Linked DNA regions of Homo sapiens: all the other regions are linked to region 3. The links are contacts of gene promoters, found by promoter capture Hi-C in blood cells and fetal thymus (Javierre and others, 2016). All regions are on one chromosome and are shown on one strand. Each heading gives the region's core, a stretch centred on a gene start or on the middle of the fragment in contact. The rest is flanking DNA. Distances are from core to core; before and after follow the strand shown.

Region 1 (2,700 bases), core at 148-2,647, 2.0 Mb before region 3:
AGGTCATACGACTTGTAAATGACAGAACTGACATTTGAACTCAAAATGAACTGACTCTAAGTCCTAAGCTCTTACTAAACCAATGGCTACAGAAATTCAGAAAATGGGGAAGGCTAATAGAGGAGCTGAGCTGGCCGTTAAGGGAAAGATAGGCTTCAGTTAGTCAAGGAGGAGGAAGAAGGGCCGAAGGGGTCAAGCATAGAGTAAATGCATGGAGACTGGAAAAGAGCTTGCGGAAATTGATTGCATTAGTCTAGCTGTCCAGTAAATTCCTATGTGGGCCAGATTTTGGTGGACAATGAATACCAGGCCGAAGATTGTGAACTGTAGGTTATCAGCAGCCACGAAACATTATAATGAATGCCAAGTTTCAAGCTGTAGACCCGTGGGAGATGAACTGCGAACCTGCCCGAGGAAGCGGCGCCCAAGTGGCTAGGGGCGGGGTCACAGGCGCCAGAGGTGTCGCTGGGGCACCTCTCCGGGCCTTCCCCCTTTTTCTTCCGGGCTGGGTCCCGCTACTCCAGTTCCGCTAGGCGGCGGAGACGGGGCCAGAGGTGGGACTACAATCTTGGCCCTCAGAGGGGTGCCCAGGCGGCCGCGGTAGGCGGCCCTCTTTCTCCGGCCTCGAGTGGGACTGGCACCCGTCTCGGGGGGCTCCACACTACCACGCAGGAAAGCCAACTCGTCCGCCGCCCGAAGCCGGGTTCCCCTAGACTCCCACGGGCCGCCTCCTTTTTCGTCCCCCCCGAGGCCGCGACTCTGAGGGTTCCGCTCTGCGGCGGAGGTGGGGCCAGGGGCGGGGATGTGGGCGGGGCCGTGAGGTCGTTCCAGGGCGCGGGGCGGGGCCGCCCCCTTACCTGTGCCCCTCAGGGTTCCAAACGTTCCACTCCGCGGCAGGGGCGGGGGCGAGTCCGGAGGGCGGGTCCAAGGCGCCCAGGTGGCCGCGGCAGAAGGGCCTGTTTCTCTGGCCTTGGCTGTGGTTGGCAGCCGGCCGGGGAGAGAAGGGACTCAGGGAGGCAACCTGGTTCCCGCCCGTTGCTGATTTCGCAGCGGCTCTCCCGGGCCGCCCCCTTTTCCTTCCTCCTCAGGCCGCGACTTGGAGGGTTCCGCTCCGCGGCGGGGGCAGAGCCAGGGGCGGGGCTGAGCGCGGCCTGGGCGATCTCCCCGGCGGCTGGGGTGGGCTGGCGTCTTCTTCGCGCCCGGGGGACCTCCTCGCGACCGCCGGGACGTAAAAGGGGCTTGGCAGGGGCGTCCTCGCCCCACTCCCGGAACCTGGTTTCCCGCTGCTCCCGCGAGCGTCGGGAGCCCAGCAGGCCTGGCCGAGGCGGGACCTTCGTCGCTCCAGCCCCCGTCCCCGCCCCCGCGCCTCCCCGCCGCGCGGAGCTCTGGTTGGCTTGCTTTCCAACCGGACTTTGGGGCTAGCGTTTAGAAAAGTCTCGACCTCCTCCGGCCCGGTCCCATCCCAAGAACCGACTAAGGCTGTGAGTGTCCGGGAACCAGACCCGCTTGGAGGCCACAGCCCCGACGTCCCGCGCCCACGCGGCAGATCGGGCGCTGCGGCCTGGGAGCCTCGGGGAGATGCGGAGCAGGAGCAATTCCGGGGTCCGCTTGGACGGGTACGCGCGGCTGGTGCAGCAAACCATCCTGTGTTACCAGGTAAGGAGGGACCGCCCCCAGGGAACGCGTGGAACTACCCTCTCATGTAACTCATTCTCCTTCCCAGGTCTGGCCCTCTTGTGACCTGAGACCTTGCAATTAAGAGTTTGCTATTTGAATCTAGTCCTTGCTAGCCAGTGATTACCACCCCATTGCCACCCCGTGCTCCTTAAGATTCAGGGGACCTAACTGTTGCTACGGCTACTTTTCACAGAATTCTTTGGCCATTGTTCAGGATGAGAATGAGCCGCCTCCGTGCCCGGGTCCAAACTGCCTCTTTTTGCATTGACTCTGCTTTTTTTGGACGAGAAGAGGTGTGGGGGGTTTGGACAGACTACACTGAATGAGAACAGTAGACAGGAGTGAAGAAGCTCCTGAAGTTTACGCAGGACTCTGCAGTGTGGGGCGACAGCTACCGTCCCTCCCATGAGCTGTCTTGGTAGAGACCCACCTGGGAAGCCCTTAGGGGCTACTTTGGTTGCTATTTTACAGATAAGAAAATTGTGAGGCTAGAAAGGTCACTGCATGTAGCAGGTCAGACCCAAAGGCTCCCAAGCTCACAGGGTCCTATGACACTGCCCATGTGGTCCGAGGTATGAATTTGCCTGCTATGCTTTGTATTCCTGGGCTAAAATTATGTGTGGGTCCATCAGTGTAAGACCACTGAACTATTTTTATTCCTAGTGAAGACAGCAGCTATGTTTCTTGCCCTCAATCAACAGCAACTATTTATAGGGCCTTCAAAGTCAACGAAGGAAGTGGCATTCAGGGGTTAGAGGCCTGACCTGCAAGTTGGGAGCCATGGTCATTTCCAAGGCACTGACCATTTTCCCTTCTTAACTAATTTCTTAGCCTTGTTTCCTCACTTAGGAAATATTTGTGGTGTATCTGTTATATGCAAAGCACTCTACAAAGTGCTGGGGTTACAAGAATAAATGATCGTAGTGCAGTAACATTTATGCATAAGGTATAGGTCCAAAGTCCCTTAATCTGTTTTCTTTGTTGTTGTTTGTTTGTTTTTGAGACAGGGTCTCACTCTGTCTC
Region 2 (2,709 bases), core at 194-2,693, 2.4 Mb before region 3:
CGAACTTCTGACCTCAGGTGATCCACCTGCCTCAGCCTCCCAAAATGCTGGGATTACAGGCCTGAGCCACCGCACCCGGCAGTTTTGTCATTATTTTAGGCAACAGGATTCCTAGAGGGGCATACCTCTTACCTTTTGACAATCTCTGCCTGTACTAAGTAGAGCGGTATCAAGTCCTGGGGGAAATACCAGAATCCCGAGGCCTGCAGTTACACCAATTAACACGACCTCACTGTGCCTAGGGGGGTCAGAATGCTAGCTCAGGTGTTAGGCACCTCTAAATGCTGAGGCCATGAAATAGTGCTAAACTCTACCCCCCACCCCTCAAGCATCGTTGCTCTTTGCTTTAGCTACTTGTACCCTAAGAATGTGTAGGTAAGGGGAGGGGAGGGCAGCGTCCTCTGAGTTCTGCTTCGGCGCTCCTGAACTCACTGCCAAGAAAAGCTCAGATGTTGAGGGAGAGGGAAGAGGAGGAAGTTTGTTTCTGAAGAGGCTGACCTTCTGTGAACCCGCCTCAGAACTGAGCACAGGTGTTCAAGAAATGTATACCGAACTGGAGACTCAATAAATAACACTATTCAACACACATGTTATCGATTATGTGCCAGGTGCTATTTGGAATCGTTTCCACACGTGTCACTCGTTGAATCCTCAAGACAACCCCAAGAGGTGGGGACTCTTATTATCTCCATTTTAGAGTTAACTGATAACATTTCAGAGATAACTCTTATCTCCATTTAGAGATTAACTCCACTTCGAGCAAACATTTTAGGAAACCGGGTCCCCGGGACGTTTAAAAACTTGCTCAAGGTCACAGGGCTAGTCAATGGTGAGGGTGCTGTTTGAACGAAGCCACCCTGTCTCCAGATTCTACGCTATTACAAAGCCTCTCGGTCAAGAGAAATTAAGTTAGAAGATCCGAAATGAGTGGGGTCAATTGGAGACTCGAAGGAGGCCGAGGCCACCCTTTCCGTGTCCTGTAACCCAACAGGCACCTCTTGAGCACACCGACTTCGCCTGGCGCACAGCTGGGCCCGGGGGCGGGAGGTGGGTGTCGAGAAGGGGGAAGTTCACACGGACCTTGGCGTGATCCCGGTCCGTGCCGCTTCTCCCGAGGCCAGGAACGGAATGCAGGGCGCGGAGGCGAAGTAAAGGCTCCCCGGCTCCCCTGGCGCCTTCCACCCCGCTCTGGGTGGCCCGGCCTGGCCCGCCCTGCCCTCCGGCCCCGCCTCAGCCCCACTCGCGCCCCATCCCGGCCCGCCCGGGAGGTCTCACCGGCTTCTGAGAAGCGCCAGACAGCACGCGGGAGACGGCGGCGAGCATCTTCCTCATGAAGCACAGGCAGTGGCGGCAGCGGCGACTCCTCACAACCCAGGAGGCACGACGCGGGTGCCCCCAAGTCTCCTTCAGGTGCCCCAGCAGACGCCACGCCTCAGTCGCACCGCGGCGTGACAGAGTCGTAATAACGTCATGCGCTGCGCCGGGCCGCGGGCCAACCAGAACGGCGTCCAGGGGGTGCCCCGCCCCCGCTAAAGGCCTGAGGCTGCCCATTGGGTATCAGCGCCAGAGAGGGAGGGGCTGAGGGCTCTTTCCGACGCCACGCCGCGGGCGGGTGAGGAGGCGGGGCTTGATAGCGCCTGCGTGGGAAGGTGGGGCCCCCGCCTCCAGGGCGCCGCGGGAAAGGAGCCTTCCTAGATTCCGCTCTGCTGACTACCGGGGAGGTTGTGCAGGCCCCGTCCTACCGAGCGCCTACTCCTGCCGGTGCTGCAGCTCTGCAGCCCTCGTTCAGTACATCTCGTTCAGTACACTAGATGATGAAGATTAGCAGCATGCTCAGAGCCAAAAGACAGAACATCTGGTTTCTGTAAATGGTCTGCCACTAACTTTGTCTTTAAAAGATCACGTAGCAGTTGGACAGTTCTGCCCTGTCTACTTGAACGCGGATCAAAAAATTTGTTTCCCAATATATGTCGAGAGGACAATGGGAAAAATCTTTTTTCTCTAGTTATTGGTTCACAGGCTCACTGCGAGTTAACAGCGTGGCTCAGCCGATGATAAAAGCACACACAGAGACAAAACACCAAAGCAACAAGGGGCTCTATTCAGAGGATCAAAGGGCTCAGGAACCCATTGTGTTGTGTCCTAGTGGGATTGCACCTGGGGTTCCGGGTTCAGATTTGGGCTCCACATTTTAAGGGGGATAATGAGTAAACTGAGTGGAATCCAGGGGACAGTGGTCAGAACGGTGAGGGGCTGCGATTGTGACTTATGAAGAACGATTAAAGAAGTTAGGAAGAAAACAGGCTAACTAGAATTGGCTGGGTTATGATGTAACAACTGACCTCCAAATTTCAGTGATTTCAAGAATTTGAAGTGACGCGAGCCATCGTACTCGTAACACAGGTCCCTCACAGCGTGGCACCCTCTCTCTGGAACTTAGCTTGTCTCATGGATGAAGAGAAAAGGGATCATTTAAACCGGCTCTCAAAGCTTCTGCCCAGAAGTGACACATGTCACTTCCTCTCAATTTTCACGGACCAGAGCTAGTTACCCGACCATGTCTGAGTTCCACAAGGTGAAATATAATCCTCCTGCCAGGAGGAGAACAGAAAATTGGATGAACAGTAAAACCAGAGAGGATTGGATATGTCTTCACACATTTTCAGGCCAGTCATGTTCCAGGAGGAAGAGCTATTTTGTGTGTGTGTG
Region 3 (2,960 bases), core at 448-2,947:
ATGCTAAGTTCTGTGAATACTAGTTACAGTTTCAGAAATCCCAAATTCAAAAGGGTGAAAGATTACAAAGTGTCTAAAGTTATGCTCACAAACATATAGCAGTAAAAACACTCCAGCAGTATAAAACGCAGTCTTAAGCAATTTTTTTAAAAATACGTATGAACACAATGACATTGCAAGTGAACCATAAAACCCTCAGTTCTCCTTTGAAACTAGATTTTAAAATACCACTCGCCACTCTAAATATTCCATTGGTGTTAATAACATTCATACTATTGCTTTTAGGAAAAGCTTCATTTCACGTTTTGAACCTGATATTAACAGTCTTATCACCATGAAGTGCTGGTGACATGAAATGACAGACAAAGGCTTATCAAGTAGTCTTTCTCCAAGCTCCAAGGAAAGCACAAAACAAAAACAGCGTCTGGTATGTATCATCCCCTAGTACTTTTCCAAGTATAGAACAGCCAAAAGGTGGTAGCTATGACATCCCTTACCTTTCAATTCTATTTCAAGTCCAAGTAATGATAGATGGGAAACTACAGCTGTTTCCCATGGTGGACTTCTGAAGTCCACCTCTAATCTCAAATGGGAAATTTGGTTTTGACTTGACAAACGTCCTCTTGCAGTCCCGTGTCCCTGTTCTGCAACTTGTCATTAAGGTTTTCGATTTAATATTAATATTTAGAAATATGTTATGGGCAATTACATATAGTAGATACTTATATATTACAACTACATAGAGAGGACAACATTCAGCCCTGGGCCTCGAACCCTACGGACACACACACCCTTCAAGTTGAAATCCCAGCAAGGCACCCTGAGAACCCACTCAGGAGAGGGAGGGGCAGGAGCAGCGAGCAGAGGTTAAACCAGGCAGCAGCCAAAACAAACACCACTTCCAGAACAGGACAAACTTTGGGTCTGGGCGGCTGCAGAACCCCAGAAATGGCCGGGGGAGGGGAGAGAGTGTCAGACTGTCTCAGGGAAGGAAGATGGGGAGAGCGCACCCAGCACTGGGCGAGGAGCTGAGCTGCGAAGGAGGCTGGTGTCCCCCGGGGACAAGGGCGTCGCCGCCATCCCCGGCTGCAGAGTCCTCTCTCTCAGAACTGGCCGAGGCCTCCGGGTCCCTGGGGGCAGCCCTGTCGCCCCACTCGCAACCTCCGCCCCCGCACACACTGCCCCACAGACCCGCAGGGACAGGAGGCGGAGGGACCCACCTGGTGCAGCGTCTCGGCGGGCAGCTGCGATGCCCGAAACAGGTCAGCCACGGGGCCGGCGGCCGCAGTGGCCGTGCCGGGGGCGACTCTGGCGGCCTCGGGGGGCCCAGACCCGGGGCCCCCGCCCGCGGCGCCGGCACAGCGCGCGAAGAGCTCGGAGTAGCACTGCTGCTCGCCCTCGCTCAGCAGCAGCGGCGGCGGCCCGGAGCCACAGCCCCCGCCCGCCGCTGCCGCTGCCGCTGCCGCCGCCGCCGCCGCCGCTGCCGCCTCCATGGGGCCAGCAAGGGGGCGCGGCGGAGCCCTGTCCCTAGCTGGGGTGCTGCTGCGTCCGCCACAGCCACCGCCTCCTCGGCCTCAGCTGCCGCCGCCGCCGCCGCCGCCACCACCGCCGCCGCCACCACCACCCCCACGCCCCGCAGCTGCCGCGCGGCCGCTTCCTCCCGGCGCGCGCCGGCCCCACCCCCGGGCTTGAATGTTGTGCCTCAGCTGCGCGGCACATGGAGACAGGCGCGGCGCGGCCCAATCACAGCCTGAGATGTCACCCCGGCCCCGCCCCCGCCTCCCGCTTGCCCCGCCCAGCGCCAGGTAACTAACCCAGCGCGCCGCACGCCCTCCGCCCGTCACAGGCTCCGGTGCCCAGGAAGGCGGGCCCCGTGCCTTTCCAAGCCTACCCTGCAAGGGAGCGGAGCCTTTGGCCATCCGCCCTGGTTGGGAAGGGGGCATCTAGACCCAACTGGAGAGAAGCTCTTTTCGGGGAGCGGGGAAGGTTGTGTTGTTTTCTTGCTAGAAGGCTGGGGCAGGTGTGGTGCCCACACCACGCCATGCCCTTTCCAGAAAGGGACAAGGCATGGGAAATTAGGTTTCCTTTCTTCCATAGCAGTACTGCTTATGTCCTAAAGAGCCGGAAGACGCAGACGTCTGTACAAACAGGGTCCCACTGACCCCAGAGTGTTCAGGGTGGTATTGGAGTTAGGCCCCCTCGTCAGACATGGCTCAAACCAGGAGTTGAGACTTTATAAGGAATAACATCGGTTACTCGTAAATACTAGAGTAGTAAGAGTACAAAAAGACCCATTTTGCAGATCATTTCGTCCAAACCCTGCTTTTACAGATGAGGAAACTGCCATGTTCACCTTCATTCCTCCAAAACCAGTTGAATATCTCGTATGTAGCAGATTTATATGCTAGGGCCTGAAAATACAAACCTCAGTAACAGAGGATCCTCACTCTCCAAAGGAAGCACTTATTTTAGTAGTAAAACAGGCATTTTTTTTAGTACAAAACTTGTTCAAGCTCACACCAAAAATCAATGCGAAACCCCACATTTTTCCACCCCGGTCCATGTCCTCCTCTCTCTCTCCATTCCTCCCTATCCTAAAGCATACACACTATATTTTTCAAATGTGCTTGCTTCCCCCTGGCTAGTACTCTAACCACTTTTTTTTTTTTTTTTTTTTTTTGAGAAGGAGTTTCGCTCTTGTTGCCCAGGCTGTAGTTCAATGGCACAGTCTTGGCTCACTGCAACCTCCACCTCCCGGGTTCGAGCGATTATCCTGCCTCAGCCTCCCGAGTAGCTGGAATTACAGGCGCCTGCCACCACTCCTGGCTAATTTTTGTATTTTTAGTAGAGACGGGGTTTCACCATGTTTGTCAGGCTGGTCTCGAACTCCTGACCTCAGGTGATCCACCCCACCCCCACCCCCCCACCTCGGCCTCCCAAAGTGCTGGGATTACAGGCTT

Evidence for each region. The method cuts DNA at HindIII sites, captures the fragments that hold promoters and counts their contacts. A CHiCAGO score of 5 or more calls a contact.
Region 1: a contact is called between the fragment with the promoter of PHKA2 here and the fragment with the promoter of REPS2 in region 3, in 1 of 17 cell types (activated CD4 T cells). The highest score is 7.7, in activated CD4 T cells.
Region 2: the fragment with the promoter of PDHA1 here is called in contact with the fragment with the promoter of REPS2 in region 3 in 3 of 17 cell types (total B cells, non-activated CD4 T cells and fetal thymus); the score reaches 11.1 in total B cells.

What each region holds. Positions count from the first base shown.
Region 1 is chrX:18,982,811-18,985,510 of GRCh38, reverse strand. It overlaps PHKA2 (phosphorylase kinase regulatory subunit alpha 2), which reads left to right and starts at 1,397. Exons shown (of 33, transcript NM_000292.3): 1 at 1,397-1,656. The coding sequence starts at 1,579. RefSeq lists enhancers at 563-612, 594-1,094, 1,095-1,595 and a silencer at 713-1,402. The HindIII fragment of the contact is 8,902 bases long and covers 1-2,700 here.
Region 2 is chrX:19,342,661-19,345,369 of GRCh38, reverse strand. It overlaps PDHA1 (pyruvate dehydrogenase E1 subunit alpha 1), which reads right to left and starts at 1,443. Exons shown (of 11, transcript NM_000284.4): 1 at 1,276-1,443. The coding sequence starts at 1,332. The HindIII fragment of the contact is 3,035 bases long and covers 1-2,492 here.
Region 3 is chrX:16,945,395-16,948,354 of GRCh38, reverse strand. REPS2 (RALBP1 associated Eps domain containing 2) reads right to left here and starts at 1,697. Exons shown (of 18, transcript NM_004726.3): 1 at 1,221-1,697. The coding sequence starts at 1,493. The HindIII fragment of the contact is 5,688 bases long and covers 294-2,960 here.